3 separate regions of the Homo sapiens genome follow, and regions 2 and 3 are each linked to region 1. Evidence: promoter capture Hi-C in 16 types of primary human blood cells and fetal thymus (Javierre and others, 2016). All regions are on one chromosome and are shown on one strand. Each heading gives the region's core, a stretch centred on a gene start or on the middle of the fragment in contact. The rest is flanking DNA. Distances are from core to core; before and after follow the strand shown. Region 1 holds the start of ZNF543 (zinc finger protein 543). Region 2 holds the start of ZNF417 (zinc finger protein 417). Region 3 holds the start of ZNF135 (zinc finger protein 135).

The links. Contacts are between HindIII fragments. The CHiCAGO score rates a contact against its expected background, and 5 or more counts as called.
Region 2: a contact is called between the fragment with the promoter of ZNF417 here and the fragment with the promoter of ZNF543 in region 1, in 5 of 17 cell types (fetal thymus, total CD4 T cells, naive CD8 T cells and 2 more). The highest score is 8.2, in fetal thymus.
Region 3: a contact is called between the fragment with the promoter of ZNF135 here and the fragment with the promoter of ZNF543 in region 1, in 4 of 17 cell types (neutrophils, total CD4 T cells, naive CD8 T cells and 1 more). The highest score is 7.5, in neutrophils.

The regions. Positions count from the first base shown.
Region 1 is chr19:57,318,362-57,321,779 of GRCh38, forward strand. ZNF543 (zinc finger protein 543) reads left to right here and starts at 2,111. Exons shown (of 4, transcript NM_213598.4): 1 at 2,111-2,510. The coding sequence starts at 2,493. RefSeq lists enhancers at 487-1,004, 1,930-2,049, 2,060-2,209. The HindIII fragment of the contact is 3,609 bases long and covers 1-3,098 here.
Region 2 is chr19:57,915,342-57,918,665 of GRCh38, forward strand. It overlaps ZNF417 (zinc finger protein 417), which reads right to left and starts at 1,251. Exons shown (of 3, transcript NM_152475.3): 1 at 1,038-1,251. The coding sequence starts at 1,070. RefSeq lists enhancers at 1,008-1,297, 1,316-2,171, 1,568-1,627. The HindIII fragment of the contact is 13,199 bases long and covers 1-3,324 here.
Region 3 is chr19:58,057,078-58,060,538 of GRCh38, forward strand. It overlaps ZNF135 (zinc finger protein 135), which reads left to right and starts at 2,205. Exons shown (of 5, transcript NM_001289401.2): 1 at 2,205-2,233; 2 at 2,892-2,958. The coding sequence starts at 2,926. The HindIII fragment of the contact is 3,956 bases long and covers 1,203-3,461 here.

The sequences.
Region 1 (3,418 bases), core at 861-3,360:
CCTTGCCATCCAGACTCTGAATTCTAAGTCATTTCAGCCATTTAAGCATGGTTCCAAACCATCACTAGGGAGCTAGTGCAGTCGTTTGGAGACCTTTAGAGTTGCCAGAAATCTTGCACTGGTTCTTTCTCATATGTGTGGGCTGATGTTCCTTGAATCTTTGAAGTTGCTCTCCTTTGGATGGGGCTTTCTGCTTTTATATTATTTGATGCCCTTGGGAGTTTTACTGTGGTATAAGTTGGGTTTAGTTTCATGGTTTCAATTATGGGTGCTTTCACAGGCCAAGGCTCAGCTGAGCACTCCTGAGCTGCATGCTGTAAACCTGGGTAGAGGGGATTAAGCCCTTGGCTTTGTTCTCTGGCTGCTTGGGGTGAAGCACCTGCTGTGCTAGAGGGGCTGAGGTGTTCTCAGTCTGCTGGCAAAAGTGCTCCAGCAGAGCATTGTGGGGACTGCAGAGAGTGCACTGTGGCTGGGGGATGGGGAGGCCACAGGCAAGTGTGCACCACTTGGGCAGTAGAGGGGGGCTACCTGCAAGTGTGTGCCAATGGGGTGGCATGGCTGTGGTGTAGGTGAGTGAAGCACCATGGTGTGAGGGGTCCCCGGCAATGCCTCCCACCTTTTTGAATCTCCAGTGTCTATTATTCCACTATTTCCATATGTATACATCATTTAGCTACCACTTATAAGTGATAACATGCAGTATTTGACTTTGTTTCTGAATTATTTCACTTAAGAGAATGGCCCCCCAGTTCCAGCCATATTGCTGCAAAAGCCATGATTTTTTTTAATGACTGAGTAGTATTCCATGGAGTGTATATATATATACACATATATACATATACATACATATATATACATATATATACATATACATACATATATACATATATACATATACATACATATATATACATATATATACATATACATACATATATATACATATATATACATATACATACATATATATACATATACATACATATATATACATATATATACATATACATACATATATACACATATATATACATATACATACATATATACATATATATACATATACATACATATATACATATATATACATATACATACATATATACATATACATACATATATATACATATATACATATACATACATATATATACATATATATATCGCATTTTCTTTATCCAATCATCTGTCGATGGACACTTAGGTTGATTCTATGACTTTGCTACTGTGAATAGTGCTACAGTAAGCATGTAAGTACAGGCATCTTTTTGATATAGTGGTTTATTTTCCTTTAAGTAAATACCCAATAGTGGAATTGCCAGATCAAATGGCAGTTCTATTTTCAGTTCTTTGATAAATCTCCATACTGTTTTCCATAGAGGTTGTACTAATTTACATTCCCACCAATAGCATATAAGCGTTCCCTTTTCCTTGCATCCATACCAACATCTGTTGGTTTTTTACTTTTTAATAATAGCCACTCTGACCAGTATAAGATGGCATCTCAGTGTGTTTATGTGTGTGTGTTTTCTCTCATCATATCTCATTATAACCTCAAATTCCTGGGCTCAAGCAATCCTCTTGCTTCAGCCTCCCAGTGTCTAGGACTACAGGTGTACACCATCATGCCTTGCTCTTTTTTTTTTTTTTGGTAGATATAACATCTTACTATATTGCCCAGGGTGGTCTCAAACTCCTGACCTCAGCAATTATTTTGTGTTGGCATCCCAAAGCACTGAGATTACATATATGAGCTACCTCCCTAAAATAAGGGAAGTGAGCCAGAAGCTCTGGGCCCAGCCCATGATCTCAATCGGGGCGAATATCCCCGCCTCCTGACCTCAATTTTCCTAAGCTAGAAAGGACCTTTCGACCCTCCGACTTGTGCCCATAGTAAAGCGGCGGCCCTAAGACGACGCGGGGGTCCTTGTGCGCACTTAAATGGAGTCGGCTGCGCTTGGTGAGTTCCCACACCCGGTAGATGTGAGGGAAAAACTGCCTTACTCAGAAGGCACCACCCCTTGCGTCGGCCGCGGACTCTAGGCCAATGACGGGCCAGGACACGGGCGATTTCTGCGGGCCAGGGCGGCGGAGGTGGGACTTCCGCTTCGTCGCGTGACGTCATCTCCGTGAGCAGGATTGGCCCTGGAACAGTGTGGGGCCTGGACCGCTGGGTAGGCGCGTCCAGCGGCCTGAGCAGGGGAGGGTAATGAGGCTGTTACGCGCCTTCTCCGCATCTTGGCGGGAGCCTGACGCCCCGCTTCTTCCCTAACGGGGTGTTCCACCGGCGCCTGCCGAGGCCTAGGCCTCCGCAGCCGCCCTCCGTCTCCTCAGCCCCGACGCTGCGCCCGCTTTGTGCGCATTTTTCTCTGGGGAAACTGAGGCTCCGAGTGCGAAAGTCAGCCGAGGTCGCCCCGCCCAGGACAGAGAAGGGCTGGGGGTCGGCTGAGCCGCGGCATTCCCGGGCCCCGCTAGGGCTGCAGGGTCTCAGGATGGCAGCCTCGGCGCAGGTGAGTGGACGAGGTTTTGGCCTTGCTGCTGCTCTGCTACTTCTGGAGGCCTCGTGGGCAGGCAGAAGCCAAGACAGCCACAGGATGTTTCTTTGTCGCCGTCGTTTATTTAAGAGAAGTGGCCGTAGCTTGTCATTTCCTTTATCCGCAGTCCTGCAATAGTGTTGGCCTCCGACAGGTGCTCAGTCCTTGGTAGAAGGATGAATGATGCTTCCTTCATGGATCTCATCACACTTCCCTTAAATCCAACCTCCTCTGTTGCCTGCCAGCCCCTACCCCATCCACCTGGCCAACCACCCCTGACCTTGTCTCTCCATTTTTCCCTTGTCCTTTGCTCTTCAGAGCCACCAACCTGACCGTGCAGTCTTCTTCCTTTTTCCAGGCTTTCTCTTTGCACTTCCCTTTGCCTTGAACACTGCCCCTATAACTTCGCAGGGCCTCCCTCTCATATCTTTCTGGCCTCTGTCCAGATGTCACCTATTTGGAGGTGGCTTTCTTGGCAATTCCGGCTAAAGTGGCGCCTTACGCACTTGCCCATTTTTGGCAATGTGTGGCATTTTTGTATAGAGAATCTGACGATATTAAAGAAGCTTGCCGTTTGAGTTGGTCTAGGATGTTATGTGAACAAAGAGAAACGAAATAATTGCAAAGAGTGACAGCTGATCATAAAGAGTCCTTGCTGTGGGCTGATTGGCAGGCATTATTTAACCCTCAGCTCCTTTAATCCTGAACTCCTTAGAATTAGGTTCTCTTGTCCTCACTGTTTTACACAAGAGCAGCTGGAGGCTCACATAGGTTCAATTACCTGCCTTACATCACTGTAGCTCTTAAGTATCAGAAACTAACAACTGGTGTGTCTACCATCACAGCCTGTGTTTTTACCCTCTTCTTTGCCCGCAATGGTTAGG
Region 2 (3,324 bases), core at 1-2,500, 600 kb after region 1:
AATGCACAGCCCTCGGCCTGCTTACTCTTCCAGGGAGAGCTCCACCTCACACTTTGTTCCAGACAGGTTCCATCCTCCCGGCTCCGTCCATCTCCAGGCCATTGCCTGCGCCCCTCCCTGTGCTTGTTGCTCTCCCCACCGCATCCCACGGGTGTCAGAAACAGGTGAAACCGTCTTTGCAAAATTATAACTGAGGAAATTATGACAGTGAAAGAAATCAGACCTTACTGACTCCGTCTTGCTTCCAACCTTTCAGCTGTCCTTGTTCATTCCTGGGTATAGGCTGAATTAACTTAGGGAAGGAATTCAGTTCATGGTTTCACTCTGAAACAAAATTGATAATAGCCCTTTCCTGAAAAGACCCCCTTCTTGCCTGGAGAACAGCCTGCCTTTGCAGGACTAACGAATTAGCTACAAGGTTAGAAATTACCGTTTAGGGGTCATGCAGCTTCTGACTCCAAGAGTCTGAACCTCCCCAAGTTGCTCCTGAAGATAAATCACTATTGTAAAACCTAAGATCAGTGCTTGAGGTATTTTGCAGATCCTGCACTGGATGGATCAGCTGACAACACACAGACCGGTAATCTGGGTCAATCAGTTCTGCCATCCCACCCAGAACAGAAAACAGCATGAAAAACTCACTTTAACCCTCTATGAATCCATCTCAGGTCCCAACCCTTACCGCCAAATTAATGTTGAAAACTCTGATCCCGGAATGCTAATGGAGACTGATTTGAGTAATAATAAAACTCCTGTCTCCAGAACAGCCTGACGGCTCTGCGTCAATTACTATTTCTCCATCGCAATTCTCCAGTCTTCATAAATCGGCTCTGTCTAGGCAGCTGGCAAGGTGAACCCACTGGACAGTTACACAGGGACCCCCACTGGACAGTTACACAGGGACCCCTCCTGCGAGCGCCTCAGTGTTCCTACGCCGGGTACCGGCTACAGACCCGTGAGCAGGAGCCGCTCCCTCGCTGGTTTAGGACCTGGGTGACGATGGGGTGACCTGAGGGCACAGAAGGCGCCACAATTACCTGAGTCGGGCGCCTCGGCGCAGCCGCTGCCATCGGACTACTTGGGGAAGCACGGCCCGGGAGCAGTGGTCGCCGTCACGGGGCTGCAGAGCCGCCTCTGGGCACCGAGGACGATTCCTCTCCACCTTCTAGGTTCAGTCACCGCGGTCCCCCCCCAGCACTCAGGGGCCACAAACTGGGGAAACACCCGCGTCACCGATACACAGCCGCTACTAGAGACCCCGGAAGTCTCAGCCTTACGTTACGTGCACACGTGGAAATGCCTTCTTTCCGAGTGCTCATTGGCTCTGACCGGCTGTCGTTTAACGCAGAGCTTTCTGGGTAATGTAGTTCCCCACTTTCCATGGCGCTAAAAAGAGCGATACCCAGAGTCCATCTGCAGGAAAAGCCCGCCATCAGGTCAGGGGTTCTCCTTAAAAAGCGCACCCTTCTGGCCGGGCGCAGTGGCTCAAGCCTGTAATCTCAGCACTTTGGAAGGCGGAGGTGGGCGGATCACGAGGTCAGGAGATGGAGACCATCCTGGCTAACACGGTGAAACCCCGTGTCTACTAAAAATTCAAAAAAAAAAAAAGTTAGCTGGGTGTGGTGGCGGGCGCCTACAGTCACAGCTACTCTGGAGGCTGAGGCTGGAGGAGAATGGCGTGAACCTGGGAGGCAGAGCTTGCAGTGAGCTGGGATCGCGCCACTGCCCTCCAGCCTGCGCGACAGAGCAAGACTCTGTCTCAAAAAAAAAAAAAAAAAAAAAAAAAAAAAAAAAAAAAAAGGCGCCTTTCTAGGGCAGAGGAGGGGTCTCACCTAGCCTTAGAAGCCGTATTGAGATTCCTGGAGACTAGTGTCTGTAACTAATCACTCAAGAATCTGGAAAAATACTGTTTCAGATTTCGGGGAGCGCAAGGTAAATAATAGGGAGCTCAAGCTAAAACTATTATTTAGGATTCTCCTAAAGGCTAAAAATCCAAATTACCACACCGTTTGAAACAGTCGTTCAGTCGCAAAATACCTGCACTGGAAGCAGAGGCTGATAAGCGTTGTTGTGTTATAATGTGTCTGAAGGCCCTCAGAAGCCTTAGAGTGCCTAAGGCAAATGAAGGAAGTTAGGGATGTGCTCCCCTATAGCAGGAGTGCAAAGCTGAATCTCTGTGATTCCTACAGAAAACAACTCTCCTGCTGATAGAATCTGTGAAAGGAAAATCTTGTGGCCTCAAAATTACTAAGCTAAAGGGAAAAGTCAATCTGGGAACTGCTCAGGGCAAACTTGCCTCCCATTCTATTCAAAGTCTTCCCTCTCCTCACTGAGATAGATGCCTATTCTGATTGCCTCCTTTGGAAGGACTTATCAGAAATTAAAAAGAATCCAACTATTTGTCTCTCTACCTGTCTACCTGTGACCTGGAAGTCCCCTCCCTGCTTCGAGTTGTTCCCGCCTTTCTGGTCGGAACCAATGTACTTCTTACATATATTCACTGATGTCTCATGTCCCCCTAAAATGTATAAAACCAACCTGTACCCCAACCACCATGGGCACATGTCGTCAGGACTTCCTGAGGCTGTGTCACGGGCATGTGTCCTCAACCTTGGCAAAATAAACTTTTTCTTTTATGAGACGGAGTCTCGCTCTTTGGTCAGGCTCGAGTGCAGTGGCGCGATCTCGGCTCACTGCAACCTCTGCCTCTCGGGTTCAAGTGATTCTCCTGCCTTAGCCTCCCGAGTAGCTGGGAGTACAGGCACGTGGCATCACGCCAATTTTTGTAGTTTCAGTACAGACGGGGGTTTCACCTTGTTTAGGATGGTCTCGATCTCCCTCGTGATCTGCCTGCCTCACCCTCCAATGTGTTGGGGTTACAGGCATGAGTCACCACACCTGGCCAGCAAAATAAACTATTTAAATTAACTGAGACCTGTCTCAAATTTGGGGGGTTCACAAATCATTATAGCGTTCAATTAATTGAACAACACTTTTTCCCACTTAGTATCCTTTACTTGATATTCTAACTTACATTCAACTCCTTTTAGTAATTTGACATCAGTCTTATAAAGAACAATAAGGCTGGGCACGGTGGCTCACGCCTGTAATCCTCGCACTTTGGGAGGCCGAGGCAGGCGGATCACCAGTTCAGGAGATCGAGACCATCCTGGCTAACATGGTGAAACCCCGTCTCTACTAAAAATACAAAAAAAAAATTAGCCGGGTGTGGTGGCACACGCCTGTAGTCCCAGCTACTCGGGAGGCTAAGGCAGGAGAATCACTTGAACCCGGGAGGCAGAGGTTGCTGTGAGCTGAGATCGC
Region 3 (3,461 bases), core at 955-3,454, 740 kb after region 1:
CCCCATCACGATGTGCCCCAGTCTCCTGTCCTCCAGCCCTTGTCACAGGAGCTGTGAGCCCAGCCCTGGGCACTTCACGCTCTGGAAGACCGGAGTCTCAGACGCCACCTTTCTCCCTGGCAGCCAGGGTCTCTTGGGTCAGAGGAGGCCTGGACACTGCCAGGTTTTGAAGCTGTCAAAAAGATTTTTTTTTTAAAGGGAGAAATATGTCCAGGGAGCTGTAACTGTTACAGTATATTTTAAATGTATGTGTTGAACAGATTAACTTTTTGAACATTAACATACAGCATGACACAGTTCTGCTATCCATGCTGTGATTGCAGGATTGCTTGGAAGCTGTACTGATGTGCAGCCCACCTGCTCATGGTGGGGGGTCCTGTTCCAGGCCACAGAGAGGCAACCAGCAATGCTCTGCTTGGAGATTCGTACAGGAAGCCAAGAAGGAGCTGAGAGGGGCCCAGCCAGTGGTTACAAGAGACAGCAGGAGGTTCAGACCACAGCAAGGGTGGCACTGGAGTAGCCTCCAGCTCATCTTATTTGACTGGTAGAGTGTTATTAAAGCCTTTGAAATCCCTACCAGCTTTTAAAAATCAAGAGATTTCACATAGAAATCCTGATCTCTGGGTTCTTTAGAGAAATCCAGACCTGGGACGCTGGGCTTGCCAGTCCGCACGACCCCACTTGGCTGGAGCCAAGCAGCACTTGCCCCTGTAGAAAGAGCCCGCCCCTGCAAAAGCATGTACGGTTTAGAAACCTGGCTGAGAAAAACAGAGGATCAGAAGGTCTGAGGGAGGAAACAGAGGGGCAAGTTTGAGGGAGCTGGGCAGGGCCGCCTGGCCACCATCAGGGCTGAGCAGGCTCAGTGTGGCACCACTGACAGCTTCTCACCAGGACTATCAGACCGCTTGGGAAAAAGACTTCACCATGAGTTGTGTGTTCATACCTTTTGATCCAGTAAAAGGAAACGGTTGGGGGTGGGGGTGGGGGGCAAGAGTATACATTTTGTGAAAGAAAAAATACACAAAAAGATGTTTTGTGGCATTTGGGTTTGTGAGTTCGAGAACTGAAAAACGGCATTTTATGTATAATGGAAAGCCTCTTTACTGCTGTAGAGTGAAAAGCAGGCTGGCTTTCAGTGCGACGGTCACAAATGTGGGGCTTTACAGTACTTGGAATGTACAGGACGCCCTTAAAAGCCAAGAAGCTTGCCTTTGCTTTGTTTACATCAGTGCATTATGATTTTGAGCCATTATATCTCTTCATAATTGCCACTGTTTTAGGGCTTATGAAATTTAAAGTCTTAACTTGTGTGTTAACCAGCCAAATCTTTGCAAGTGTCTGTGTGTGGTACGAGAATTCGTATTGTGTTCTCTGCTGTTTTCAGAGTTGTTTCAGTCAAAGAAAAAAAAATGCCCGTCTTAAAACTTTTCCTCTGCTTCAAATACAGCTCCCAAGCCCAGGCTGATTGGAATTAATCTGTCCTCCCTTAAAAGGGCAAAAGCACAAGGCTCAGCCCTGGCTTTCCCAGCTCCTCTGGTCTCGCTGCTCCACGGACGTGTGACGTACGCTGGTGAAACGAAGCCCGCTTGAATGGGGGCTTCACTATTGTGTGCTGCTGAACCTAGGCCTAGCGCCTGGCAGGCTTTGGTGAATGTTCAGAAAATGACAATTCATTTCGTGTCAGCGAGGGCACACCAGCTTTGAATATTTTGCTGCTGTTCAAATGCACAATTTTGACAATTACCTAGCAATGTCCAAAGTCGTCATAATTGTTAGTGTCTTGCACGTGATGTTCCTTATAACCATGTAATAAATACAGTGTGAAGTCTCCATGGCTGCCTCAGTGTGGAAAATGCAAAGACTCCCGTGTGTGCGATCTTGGTGAATGTTTTGGTTGAAAGTATGTGTTTTGAAAAAATCATTGCTTTGTTTGCAGCAGTAAAACTGACGGTAGAGTTTCCAACACGAAAGCCCGTGTGGTCGCGCCGGGAGCTCACGGCGTTCCAAGCGGCACTTATCCCGCGTTGATGCCCAGGCACCCCGCGCGCCCTGTTTCACCAGGCCCAGTCACTCCAGCTCCAGCAGCACTGAGAGCTCACGAACGCCAAGGGCGAGAGCGAGGTGGGGGAGGGCGGCCGGAAATGCGCGCGCGGCTCTCTGGGAAATGGAGTTAGGCTCGCGCCGGCGCAGTGTCGGCTGCCGGTGCCGCGGCCTTTGTCTCGCAGTCAGGAGGGTGAGCTAGGCCGGCGAGGAGGGGGAGGGGAGGCCAGGCCGGGCCGGGCCGGGCCGGGTGCGGGGGGTCCGGGGATCTTCCTGAGGCCCTGGCGGGGCGAGTTTCCAGCAGCGCGCGTCTGTGTGGAGTCCGTTTTGCTGCCCGGGGCCTGGGGAAGGCCGTTTCGGGGCTGGCGGGGGCAGGCTTTGCGGGGCATCCCTAGTCTGAGAGGAGGGCGGGGCCCAACGCCCAGCTGGACAGGAGCTGCTCCGACGGCCCCTGAGGGAACGCGCGCCCCGCCCCTGGCCCCACCTCTGCCCCACACCGGGCACTGGGCCGCCACCTTTGTTGATGGAAGAGAGAAACTGAGGCATAGTGCCCAGGGCCAGGGGACCGCAACCACCCGGCCCTTGTCACTGTAGCGTTAAGGCTCAGAGTCTGCGCAGCAGATATGTGTCCGCACCCGCCAGGCCTTCAGCTTCCCTCAGACAGGCGGGAAAACCCTAGGCTGCCCTTCTCCGAGCGGAGGGCCGCCCCACACACAGCAGGCGCTTAAACGGGTACGCGGGGCCCTGGACGGCTCTCCGCGGAGCTCCCCAGGCTCTGGCGCAGTTCCCCGGCTTGGGGACCTGAGCACCGCCTCTGCCTGCCCCAGCTGCTCACCTCCCCTTTCCCACAGAGCAGGGCCAGCCGTTCCTGCCAGAAGCCAGGGCATGACCCCTGGGGTGCGCGTCTCCACAGACCCGGTGAGAATCTCGGCCTCCTTGCGCGTGTCCTCCACCTCGTGCCCGGCCTCCTCGCGCGCGGCCTTCTCACGCCCGGCCTCCTCTTTGCACCCCGTCCCTACTCGCGCTCAGCCTCCTCCTTGTGCCCGGCCCCTACTTGCGTGCCCGGCCCCTACTCGTGCCCGGCCTCTACTCGCACAACTGGCCTCTACTCGCGCACCTGGCCTCTACTGGTGCCCGGCCTCTACTCGTGCCCGGCCTCTATTTGCACATCTAGCCTCTACTCGTGTCCGGCCTCTACCTGCACACCCGGCCTCCTAAAGTCCGCGCCAAGCTCCCCAACCACAGCCTGCCTCTGAAAGGACCGCCCACGCCGCGCTGGAGGTCAGCGGGCACGGGTCCCTGTCTGAGTGGGCTTTATGTTTGTGCGGCCGTCATTGCATACCTGAGGCTGGGTGATGTCAGAAAATTGTAGGTGCCCCGGCTCTGCAGTCTGAAGTTGAAGGCCTTAGCATGCTCTGCGC